Regions from separate parts of the Homo sapiens genome. Here all the other regions are linked to region 2. The links are contacts of gene promoters, found by promoter capture Hi-C in blood cells and fetal thymus (Javierre and others, 2016). All regions are on one chromosome and are shown on one strand. The core of a region is centred on a gene start or on the middle of the fragment in contact, and the rest is flanking DNA. Distances in the headings are between cores, read along the strand shown. Region 1 holds the start of TMEM68 (transmembrane protein 68). Region 2 holds the start of ASPH (aspartate beta-hydroxylase). Region 3 holds the start of NCOA2 (nuclear receptor coactivator 2). Region 4 holds the start of RPS20 (ribosomal protein S20).

What was found. The method cuts DNA at HindIII sites, captures the fragments that hold promoters and counts their contacts. A CHiCAGO score of 5 or more calls a contact.
Region 1: a contact is called between the fragment with the promoter of TMEM68 here and the fragment with the promoter of ASPH in region 2, in 1 of 17 cell types (total CD4 T cells). The highest score is 12.8, in total CD4 T cells.
Region 3: a contact is called between the fragment with the promoter of NCOA2 here and the fragment with the promoter of ASPH in region 2, in 3 of 17 cell types (activated CD4 T cells, non-activated CD4 T cells and fetal thymus). The highest score is 9.6, in activated CD4 T cells.
Region 4: a contact is called between the fragment with the promoter of RPS20 here and the fragment with the promoter of ASPH in region 2, in 3 of 17 cell types (naive CD8 T cells, naive CD4 T cells and activated CD4 T cells). The highest score is 7.1, in naive CD8 T cells.

What each region holds. Positions count from the first base shown.
Region 1 is chr8:55,772,093-55,774,792 of GRCh38, reverse strand. TMEM68 (transmembrane protein 68) reads left to right here and starts at 1,415. Exons shown (of 8, transcript NM_001286657.2): 1 at 1,415-1,524. It overlaps TGS1 (trimethylguanosine synthase 1), which reads right to left and starts at 1,347. Exons shown (of 13, transcript NM_024831.8): 1 at 1,074-1,347. The coding sequence starts at 1,174. RefSeq lists enhancers at 909-1,238, 2,010-2,513 and silencers at 1,379-1,568, 1,659-1,788. The HindIII fragment of the contact is 10,724 bases long and covers 1-2,700 here.
Region 2 is chr8:61,713,210-61,715,909 of GRCh38, reverse strand. ASPH (aspartate beta-hydroxylase) reads left to right here and starts at 1,318. Exons shown (of 25, transcript NM_004318.4): 1 at 1,318-1,641. The coding sequence starts at 1,539. It overlaps MIR4470 (microRNA 4470), which reads right to left and starts at 1,122; the gene lies at 1,051-1,122. RefSeq lists silencers at 1,109-1,478, 1,519-1,948. The HindIII fragment of the contact is 6,840 bases long and covers 1-2,700 here.
Region 3 is chr8:70,402,397-70,405,096 of GRCh38, reverse strand. NCOA2 (nuclear receptor coactivator 2) reads left to right here and starts at 1,289. Exons shown (of 23, transcript NM_006540.4): 1 at 1,289-1,397. RefSeq lists silencers at 513-672, 1,363-1,672, 1,713-2,002, 2,033-2,692 and an enhancer at 773-892. The HindIII fragment of the contact is 4,231 bases long and covers 1-2,700 here.
Region 4 is chr8:56,073,229-56,075,928 of GRCh38, reverse strand. RPS20 (ribosomal protein S20) reads left to right here and starts at 1,423. Exons shown (of 4, transcript NM_001023.4): 1 at 1,423-1,548; 2 at 1,770-1,869; 3 at 2,161-2,234; 4 at 2,657-2,700. The coding sequence starts at 1,546. SNORD54 (small nucleolar RNA, C/D box 54) reads left to right here and starts at 2,028; the gene lies at 2,028-2,090. CERNA3 (competing endogenous lncRNA 3 for miR-645) reads right to left here and starts at 1,337. Exons shown (of 2, transcript NR_149110.1): 1 at 1,049-1,337; 2 at 655-922. The HindIII fragment of the contact is 15,741 bases long and covers 1-1,695 here.

The DNA of each region.
Region 1 (2,700 bases), core at 166-2,665, 5.9 Mb after region 2:
TGTTTTCACAGCATCCTGCACTTCTCTCTCATAGCACTTATAACTATAATCAACCAAGTAATAATGTAACCAGTTATCTTAATATTGATCTTCTCTGCTAGGAAGTAAACTCAATACATGTAAGGACAGAATGTCTTGTACCTCAGTGCCTACCAGCATACTTGATATACAAGAGCACAAAAAACATTTTCTGAATGATTGTATGACTACATGCATGCCTGACTAAAAAGGCGACAATACTTTTTACATTAAATTTAACAAGTTTAACTTCTTTTTGCGTTTTCAAATTACTCCACAAAATTACACGAGAAAAATGAATTCCTTCAAACTTAAATCCTACTATATTAAACTATATTAAAAGTCTATCACATAAAATTCACTTCCACAAGGATTTAACTCTAACAAAATAAGCATGTGAGATTAAATATACCCGTTATAGAGATGAAAAAAAGGTTCAAGTGGTTTAACTCACGCATTTAATATAAAGGAAACAATTCCTAGAATTCAAGTCTCTTGGCGGTATTATTCCTGCATACTAGCTATTTTTCATGTGGGGCAATTTTTACCTGATTCAAAGATTTCCCCAAAATAAAGATATCACAAAAACTGATGTAAATATGGTTAAGTCTTTTATCTCAACTAGTTTGAAGTTTTAATTATGTGCATTTGGGCTTAAGTAGATTTTTAGGTTTAAAAAAAGACGTTAACCAAAGCAAGTCACTCAACTTTAAACTTTCACTTTATGACATCATATCTACTAGAGATTTCATTTTACATGTCGCTTTCCCCCAATTTTTAAATGTCCCCTCGATTTACAAATATGAGATGACATATAGCACCTACGACATTTTTTCATAGCAGCCTACCAAGTAGATGTAGTCCTTCACATAAAAATAATGGCAGTGGGCGACCACTCCGTCATGTCTGAGGGTTTTGTTTTTCTTAAACATCACCGTGCCCAAGGGTCAGATGTTCTGGCTGCTTTCAGGGATCAATTACAACCACGTTTGCAATACCTACATTTCTGGGTAATGACTGTGCTAGAACATGAAGAGATTCTCTTTTCTACTTACTCCACAAATGCCCTGGAGCAAAGGCACAGTATCTTACAATCCTCCCGCTCCTCAATGAAGAGAAACATTTCCGCCACGCGGCTCCACTTCTCGCAGCACATTTTACCACTTCGGAGGCAGCTCTGACGTACGCAGCCCGGGTCGCGCCTGCCGGGCCTCCGCTCGGTTACTGGAGACTTAAAACAGGCCTCGCCCGCAAGCCCTGGATGAGGAGATAGAAACTGGCCCGCGGCCGCTCGCGCCGGGAACTAGCCCGGACGCTGCCGCCGGAAGTGGCTCCGAGGGGCCACGGGAAGGGGCGGGACCACGGGCGGTGTCACCCCCATCGCGGCCCGGGCTGCAGCCGCCGCTTGGCTTCTTTCACACGGGTTGCTTCGGAGGAATCCGCCGTGCAAATCTGTCCGCCCCCTTGGCCACTGATCCCCCGAAGAGCTTCTGTCGCCGCTCTAGGGTAAAGGAGAGCTGCCCCTGCCCCTGCCCCCGCCTATCCGAGGTGCGTCGGCCCCCGCGCTTCTCCAGCCCGGCATCGGGTCTGGCGGGACTGGGAGCGGCGGAGGCCGCGCGCGTCCGGTCTCCCAGGAGCCGCCTCGGAATCCCCAGTCTCTTCGCGGGCAGGCTCGGCTTCCCGCCGGCCTCAGTGTTGCGCCCCAGCGCCAGAGTGGCCGGGTGTGGAGATCCTCCCTCCTCTGGGTCAAAGAGCCTGCTCTCCCCGCCCCTCTTCTCCCCTGGCGCTCTAAACCTTCGGTTCGGCGCGTTTCATCCTAATGCATCTGGTGGGGCGAGGCGTCTCTAGCCTCTGTAGAGGCCTCTAGGCTTGCCCAGTGGCTTCGCTGGTTCCGGGACCCAGGTCGAGCCTCCGGTGTAAAAGCCAAGGGGAAGTGTGTGGTGATCCCGAGAGTGTAGGGGGAAAGCCGCGTGGGTAGAGCGTTCGTATCCAGACCGATCAGGCTTGGAATCCTGGTCCTACCTTGTGACCTGGGCAGGCAACTTCACCTTTCTGAGCTTACCTTTGATCACCTGTGAAATGGGGTTGATTAATAGTAACTACTACATGAGGCTGCAGGGAGGACTAAACGAAATGATGTATATTACACCTTTCCTTTGTGCGCTTAATCGTTGGCGTCGGTTTGGACCTTGTAGGCGTTAAGTGCTGTCTCGGTCCCTGGGGTTTGCAGCCTGTAAAACAGGTCTCTGCCTTCAAGTTACTAATTATCTAATAAGAAAAAAGTTCATGTGGGCATAAATAGGATGGAGAAAATGGAAACAGCAGCGTTGCTGGATCTGTTAAAAAGCAGTTAGTATTTGGTGTGTGGTATTCATGGAGGCTGCACGGGCAACTTCTTCAGAGACAAGCTCAGACTTGAAAGTTGGAGCGCTTCGGACGTGGTTGGTGCTACGAAATGCCAAAATAGTATTGGTACTTCTTCAGAACTATATAAAAACTGAGCTAAAATTCATGCATTTTGAATGGTATTTTCAATAGTATTTTGGCCACATTTACTAGTTAGTGGAAATATTCATTTTCAAATGTTTATTCCCACCTCCTTACTGCTGCCCTACTTTGAGGTCGGAGATAGGCTGATTTTGTTGGTTCAAGAAGGTAAGAGTGCTGCACGGTTACAGATAT
Region 2 (2,700 bases), core at 69-2,568:
TAATATAATAGAGGGTTGTAAGGGGGCCCTGAATGGGAGAAAGGATATATGGATGCAGAAGGAGATGCCACAAGATAAAAGCTGAGAGAGCTACTTCAATAAAAACTCTGTGAACTCTCCCCTCCCACCGTCTCTTGATAATAGCCTAACACTATTTGACAAAAGGTAAAGAAAGGCATTCTCTTTATTCTGCAACATGACCTTTGGGGGGTTTCTGTGCATCATCAGGGCAGGGTCAAGCAGCATCCAACCATCCACAGGTGAAAAGGCATGGGGCCGGGGGGAGGCGGGAGTGCTTCTGAAGGCGCGGGTGGGTGGGTTTGTGGGGCTGGAAAAGAGGAATGAAACCAGATGCCACAATGCAACTGCTCTCTCTGGTCCCTGAGCCCTCCTGAGACACTCCCAGGGGTTGCTACGAAACATGATCAAGAGCTGTGGGTTCAGCAATTGACAGAAATGTATCAAATCACTAAGCATTTCTTGCTTGCCTGTTACACATTGGGCATGGTGTTAGCAATGGTGACACAAAGATGATAAAGACGTCGCTGATCTCAAGTCCTTGTCTGGTTCAACCACGTGCCAAGACATTTTAATACTCTGTTGGGAATTCTCAGGCAGCACAGGCCCAGGCGTTAGCAAAGCAGCCAGGGATTTCAGACAGAGGGTGCCATCCAGGGTAAGAAAATGAACTTTTTGTGTCACATTTGCATTTTCATTCCTTAACTAAGAGTATCTGAAAATACTGATGGCACAAACGAACTAAATTCCTGCTTCAGCACCAAATGGATGAACTACTACGGTTTAAGCATTGAACTAGTCCTAATATCACCATTCCAGAAATGTCTTAGTATTAATCAGGACAAGAAATAGGGATCTCTTTCGCAAGAAGCGAGACTGCACTCCTTCCTTTCCTTGTATACGGAAAGGGGACAAAATCCACAGTGAAAGGCCTAGAAGCGGCGCACTCCGCCCACGGGCGGCCCACGTGTCCACCTATTCCGCACCGCGCCCTGTCCCATCCCTATGGAGCGGGGTCTGCCAACGCTCGCGAGAGCCCTCTCGGCTTCCACGTTTGCCACGTTCCAAAGGACCGAGACAAACTGGAAAGCCGAAAGAGGCTCGCGCTCACAGGCAGCTGCGTAGCGCCCGAACAGCCCTAAGTGAGCAGGGGCGGGGAGCGCGGCAGGGTACCGCCGCCTCGTAAGGGCCCTTGCGATTGGGTCCCAGGCGCCGTCACTCAGCCTTCCGGGGGCGGGGCGAGGCCGGGAAGGGGCGTGGCCGTCGGGCGGCGAGCCGCGCGCTCTCGCCCCGGGAGGGAGTCACAGGTTCGTACACGCGAGGCCGGGCGCGCGCAGCCGGCAGGCGGGTGAAGTCTTCCCAGGTGCTGCAGGCGGTGCTGAGGCACAGGGTCTGCTGCAGGAGCAGCGGCCCGAACCCGCTCCAGCGGCCCGCCGCCGCCAGCGGTTCCCGCGTCGCGTGTGTACCCCCGCGCACTGAAGGAGGTCCGCCAGCCCTCACCAGCCCCCGCGGACCGTGCAATGGCCCAGCGTAAGAATGCCAAGAGCAGCGGCAACAGCAGCAGCAGCGGCTCCGGCAGCGGTAGCACGAGTGCGGGCAGCAGCAGCCCCGGGGCCCGGAGAGGTCAGAGGCCCTGCGGGGCGGGGATCTGGGGCCTCGCCTCGGGGTAGGGAGCCGGCTGGCGCGGCGGACGCTGCGGGTGCATCTCCCCAGGTCCCACCGCGCGCCGCCTCCATCCCCCGCGACGCTCCTCCTTTAGGCGCGCGGGGCGGAGGCCGCATTCGGCGGGCCTGGCGGGCGGGCGAGGGGCCAGGCGGACCGGGGTCCGAGCCCTCGGGATGCTAGTCTCGGGGAGCCCCTTCCCAGCGGTTCCTTCACCTGCAGGGCGCAGCCGAGACAGAGGTTGCTGAACGACTGTTTCTTGGCTTTCCGTGGAATTGAACATGGGAGTAAGAGAACAATTTATCGTTTGCCTTGCGTGTTTTGGGGAGTTGAAAATGAGCCAAAGTCAGGGAAAGTGAGTTCCTGCCTAACCAGCAGCGTTTCAGAGCAACTCAAAGGAGGTGAAAATGGGGGCGCCGGGGGGCAGGGGGAGGGAAGAAGTTGGGAGTGATTTGAATGCTCTCAGAAATTATTTTAAATATTTTTGCTTGTATGTAGCTTTCTTAATATGCGTTGCAGTTGCCTTTAAAATAGAATGTCATGAAATACTGAACGAGCGTCTGTATTTTTACCACTTTTACTTAAAATAAAAATCGATTGGATATTCACCTTTCTCCTCGTCCGTGTGCATATCCAGCAGAGAGAACAGATTTTTAAATCTGTTTCGTCTCATATTTCAGTGATTCTTGGTTTCTTTTATACTTCCTTTGACTCATATTTGGGATATTGAAACTGCAATACACATGTGTATGGAATGTGAGCTGTAAACTTCACTTGAAGTGATTTAGACTCTTTGTTTTCTGAGATCTTCAGATCATGCATTCATAATATACCAAGAAAATGAATCAGCTATAGTCAAAGAAGTATTTTCTTTATAGCACTTGTCACTATCTGAACTTGTCTTATTACTTTCATGTGTGTTGTCTTTGGCTCATTCTCTCTGTATCCCCAGCTCCTAGAATGTTCCTTTCCCATAATAGGTGCTCAATAAATATTTGAGTAGTGAATGAATGAATGGAT
Region 3 (2,700 bases), core at 40-2,539, 8.7 Mb before region 2:
TTTTTTGTGTGAAGTGAAAAGCGGCAATGACTTCGGAAGGTTTGAGGATTAAGGCCTATAGCATATATACATCACCTAGCACAGTCAGATTCACAGTAAGTGTTCAATAAACACTCTTATTGTCTACCGCAAGTGACCTTTCTCATTATAAGATTAAAATCAGGGAATATGTTCCTCTCATAGTTTGATAACTGCCATTAAACAAAAGTTTTTTTTTTCAACTAATTACCGTATAAGTTGGAAAAAAAACTTGCTTTTCCAAAGCGTAAAACAGATTGGTCTAAGTAACACTTAAATGGGGGTTCTCGCATTTTCAGTGCCAATCTCCTACGTCCCCTCAGTACTTTGTTCACGGATGTCTAGAGAATGGACTTTCCAATACAAACTTATGATTTCATGATGTGCCGAAAATTCTCAACCAGGTTAAGTTTCACACTCTGTGTGCAGCATTTGCTTTATCCCGCAATTGCCGGGTGGTGCCCCTTCCAGCTCCCACAGTCGCGCCTCTCCATCCCCTCTGGAGCTAGGACTGCAATGGGAGAAGCCTCTCCCTGTTGGAGCCGTAGGGGACTTGACGGATGCGGGGCGCCTCCGGGGAGCAGCGGCAGGACCGGGAGTTGGGTAGGGTGAGGTGCGCCCGAGGGGGTGCAGGGTGCTGGCCGAAGGGTCCGGCCGGACGGGCGCGAGGGTCCTCTGCTGGCGACCCTGGAACTCGGCTCTCCCCGATCTTCGTCCTGGGGCACCGTCCCTGCCGTCTGCAGCCCCCAGGCCCCACTGCCTCTAACTCAGCGGCCCAGGCCCGTCCCAGTCGCTAGTTTTCTTTTTGGCATTGCCCTTTGCCCTCCCATGCAGTCCTCTGTTGACTCTCTCTTCAGTTCCAGTCACCTCTAGGTCACCCTCCCTCTACCACAGTCACCCATTTTGTCCCCTGTCCCCTTACTCTTCTTCACCTCTCCCCGGGCCGCCTTCTCAGAGGACTCTGCCGACGGAGATGCTGCGGACCCCGCGGCCAGGGGCTGCTCCCCGGACAACCCTGCGTCCACCTTTGCCCCTTCCTCGGGGGCGCGAGAGGCAAGTTTCCGCCCCGTCCTTTTCCCGGTGACAGGACTTGGCGGCGGCCACTGCCGGGGAGGCAGAGGGAGGGACGGCCTGGCTCCCGAGCCCCCTCCCCTGCTCGCGAGCTCGCGCTGTCTGTCTCTCCGCAAGTGCGGAGACGCGGAGGAGGAGGAGGAGGAGGAGGAGGAGGAGGGAGTTGGGGGAGGATCTCCATTGAAATAAACAACCAGGCAGCAGTTATTAACACGGGAACATGGCGGCCGCAGCCTCGGCTACAGCTTCGGCGGCGAAGGTCAGCGCCGACGGCAGCCGGCACCTGACGGCGTGACCGACCCGAGCCGGTAACCGCGCCTTCCCCCGGGGCCGCGAGGGCGGGCGGGGGGCGGGCGGCAGGCGGGGGGCGCCGCGTCCCCACCCCCGGCCGCGACTGCCCTTCCTGCGCCGAGCTCCGACAGAGCCGTGCGCCTCCGAGAGGCTGTTTTTGTGTGCGGGGACCGCCGCCGGAGTGCGCGGAAAACGGGAGTTGCATCCCGGAGGCGCAGCGACGCTGGGGAGTTGGGGCTTGGGGGTGGGGAGGGCGGGAAGCGACGGGGAGACGCGGAGTCCCCGGGAGAGAAAGGAGGCGCTCCAGCGCCTTGCGAGAGCTCAGGAGACGAGTCCCGGAGCGCGAGGCGGGCGGAGGCTGCAGCCCGCGGCGCGGGCGAGAGGTGAGCGCCGAGGCGCGGCCGGGGGTGCGGGCGCGGCCCCCGCCCCGAGGAGCGAGTGCCCATTGCCCAGCCCGGTGCGGGGTCGGCGGAGACCGAGGCTCTAACCCCTCGGGGGCAGCGCGGCAGAGCCGAGAAGGTGAATCCTGGGAAGGTGCATTCTTTAATGGAAGCGCGGAGCGGCTGCAGCGGAGAGTGGGAGCCGGGCGAGGGGAGGCAGGACTCGGGAAGTGCTGGGGGTGTGTGAAGGTGAAGCGGGGTGTCGGGGCGGCCGGCGAGCTGCAGCGCGGGGCGGGGAAGGGGAGCCGCGGCCCGGCGGGTGGCCCGGGCCCGTGTCAGCCCCGGGGGTGGGGGGCGAGGGGCGCCGAGCACCGCGGGCGGACGGGAAGGAGCTGCGGCGGGCGGGGCGGGCGGCGCGCTGGGGCCGAGCAGGCCGGGCCGTGGTGGGGGCGGGGAGCCGGGGGCCGGGCCCCGGCGGCGCCGAGCCGGGCTCGCCCCTGACTGAACTTTCTGGGTGCGGGCGTGTATGCAGGAGGCGCGCTGGGGCCGGGGCCGGGGGCGGGAGGCGGACCGGGAGGTTCCGGGTTGGCTCGCCAGCGCCCCCTTTTCTCGCCCCCTTCTCTCCGCCCCTGAAGGGACAGGCCCTCGGGGCCCCAGGCGGGAAGCGGGAGGGGCCCTGTGGCCGCCTCGCGACGGTCACGCCCCGGGCACGGGGACCCGGCCCTCTCGGGCCCCTGGGGGGTGCTGGGGGAGGGGGCCGGGGTCGTCGCTGCCGGCTGCGCTCCCCGCCTCCTCCCCTCGGGGGAGTCCCAGAGGCGCCTCTTCCGAGACCGGGGGTGGGTCGGTCCCTGGTTAGATGGCCCCTCCCTCTTCCCCTCCCTCTAGTGGTTTCCGGGGCCTGCGGGACCGAGGGGCGGGAATCGGGGACTGGAGCCCCCTT
Region 4 (2,700 bases), core at 174-2,673, 5.6 Mb after region 2:
ATAAGACAATGCTATTATTTGATTAAAGTTTCAAACATAATTTCCTACCAAGGAACAGAAGACAAAACCTCAAGAAAGAGTCCTGACGGGGCGAGCGCGGTGGCTCACGCCTGTAATCCCAGCACTTTGGGAGGCCGAGGCGGGCCTGAGATCTGGAGTTTGAGACCAGCATGATCAACATGGAGAAACCCCGTCTCTACTAAAAAAAAAAAAAAAAAAAAAAAAATTAGCCGGGCATGGTGGCGCATGCCTGTAATCCCAGCTACTCCGGAGGCTGAGGCAGGAGAATCGCTTGAACCCAGGAGGCGGAGTTTGCGGTGAGCCGAGATCGCGCCATGGCACTCCAGCCTGGGCAACAAGAATGAAACTCCGTCTCACAAAAAAAAAAAAACAAAACAAACAAAAAAAAAAAACAACAAACAGGCCTGGACGGAGGGGTCAGAGCTCTGTCCCTCCCCATTTCAGAGTGTTTGAGCAAATAACTCTTTCGGCTCAGAGCTTCAGGTGGAAAGTAATATGAGATGATTTTACTCTTCTTTCTGCCCTGTATCAAAATCCATCTCAGTGATTTCCACGTATTTAGCCCCGGCTTCTTGCTCAGGTGTAGGTGAGCTCACCCTGCGCTCTCTCCCACTGCTCAGCTCAGTTGACCATTCGGGTTTTCCACTATACTTGGTCACTTATGTGATTATGAACAGATGTTCAGTATTAAGAAGACCCTGGGGGATCTTATCCAATGACTTTATCCAACAGAAAGGAGATGAGGTATCAGGACTGGGTGGCTAGCCAGGTTCCAGGCCGGGCCTCAGGATAGCTGCGCAGCCTGGCATTTTCGCCTCACTTTCCAGAAGGACGAGAAGCCAAGTTCAGGTCCTTTCCAGAAATAGATGTAGATACTTCTGCTGGACTGGGAAGCCAGGAGCTGAAATATCACAACAGGACGTTTCAGGCTATGAAAAATAACTGCTTACTAATTCTAACGTAAGTTATCCAGATTACGAGAAGCATTTCTGCCAATGCTCATGTCAGCTAAGCTCAGAGAAGTTACCTCATCCTCAGAGAGCAACGAATGGTATGGTCTATGTAGAAAGCAAAATTTGCAACGGAAAAACCAGAGTTCGTGTGCACTTTATGAGGAAGAGGGTTAGGTGCACCAGACAGAGGAGTTTCTCAGGTTTCCGTGTCGCCTGTTCTCTCGACCAGGTGGCCCTCTCGGCGCAGGCGGGGACCCCACCCTGCGGGACTTCGGCTCCTCCGTGCGGACAGGGGGCGCCCGCAGCCGTGCCTTTCCCGCCAACTCCACTAGTGCTCCAGCTCGCCCTTGTGCGACCGCCTCTAGGGCCCGGGATATTTCCTGTTCCGGGGCGTGTGGGACCCGGATGCAAGCGTGCTATATAAGCGTTGCTCAAGTCCCACCCCTTTCTTTTTGAGGAAGACGCGGTCGTAAGGGCTGAGGATTTTTGGTCCGCACGCTCCTGCTCCTGACTCACCGCTGTTCGCTCTCGCCGAGGAACAAGTCGGTCAGGAAGCCCGCGCGCAACAGCCATGGTGAGGCGGCAGTCGGCGGCGGGCGGCGCAACGCAGGGCTCGGGCGCCGGGGGGACCCCGGTTTCGAGTTCGTGCTCCTGAGGGCAGATGCCGGGGCGTGTAGGGGCGGAAAGGCGCTCCTGAAATGGTGGGGAAACGCGGGAAGCTTCCGGAAGCTGCCTTTCTCCAGAAGTGGCAGACCATTTTTGGCTTATTGTTCTTTTTCATGTATCTAATAATAGGCTTTTAAGGATACCGGAAAAACACCCGTGGAGCCGGAGGTGGCAATTCACCGAATTCGAATCACCCTAACAAGCCGCAACGTAAAATCCTTGGAAAAGGGTCAGTGCATTCGTTATGCGGGGGGGAGGGGGAATTGGGCGAAAAGCGACGAGCTTTACTCGTTAATGTTAGTGTAGAAGGTGGACTGCAAGAACTAAAGTGACAAGTTACTTAAAAAAGTAAAGCGTGGCTTAAAATTGCTTTTACTGTCATACAGCTGGCGATGAGGAGGTACCTATTGTGTTGAGTAACGGTGATAATTTTATACGCTATTCTGAGCCAGCAGAAGTGAAGGCCTTAAGCCGATTTTAATTGTTTCGATTATACTGAGAGGTCTTTTATTTCCTGTAGTGTGTGCTGACTTGATAAGAGGCGCAAAAGAAAAGAATCTCAAAGTGAAAGGACCAGTTCGAATGCCTACCAAGGTAAAGTAAATCGGAGGGGCAGGAAGTAGGAGTTGCTTCCGGATGTTGCATAAATTCAGGTTCTTTAAGGAGTTCGGCTGCCAAAATTGTTAACACTGATGCTGTCTACAAACGCACATAGAAATCGGTGGTAGATTGCGGTTCCTAGTAAGTAGCTAATGTTTAGATATGATTGTTGAATTATTGTTGCTGTGTTCTTGGTGTGCTTTGGTGCTTAACAGGCGCAAGCTCTAAGGGTGGTGTCCTAGCACAGTGAAAACAGACCTGGCATTTTCAACCCATGGTACCTGAAAATCTATTAGTGTAAATTGGAATCATACCAAAGGGAAACTAATGAAATGATTAGAAGTAATGATTTTCCAGATGTTCTAGGGATAAGTATAAAACGATAAACACTTGGTTTCCTTTGTCTTTTGTTACAGACTTTGAGAATCACTACAAGAAAAACTCCTTGTGGTGAAGGTTC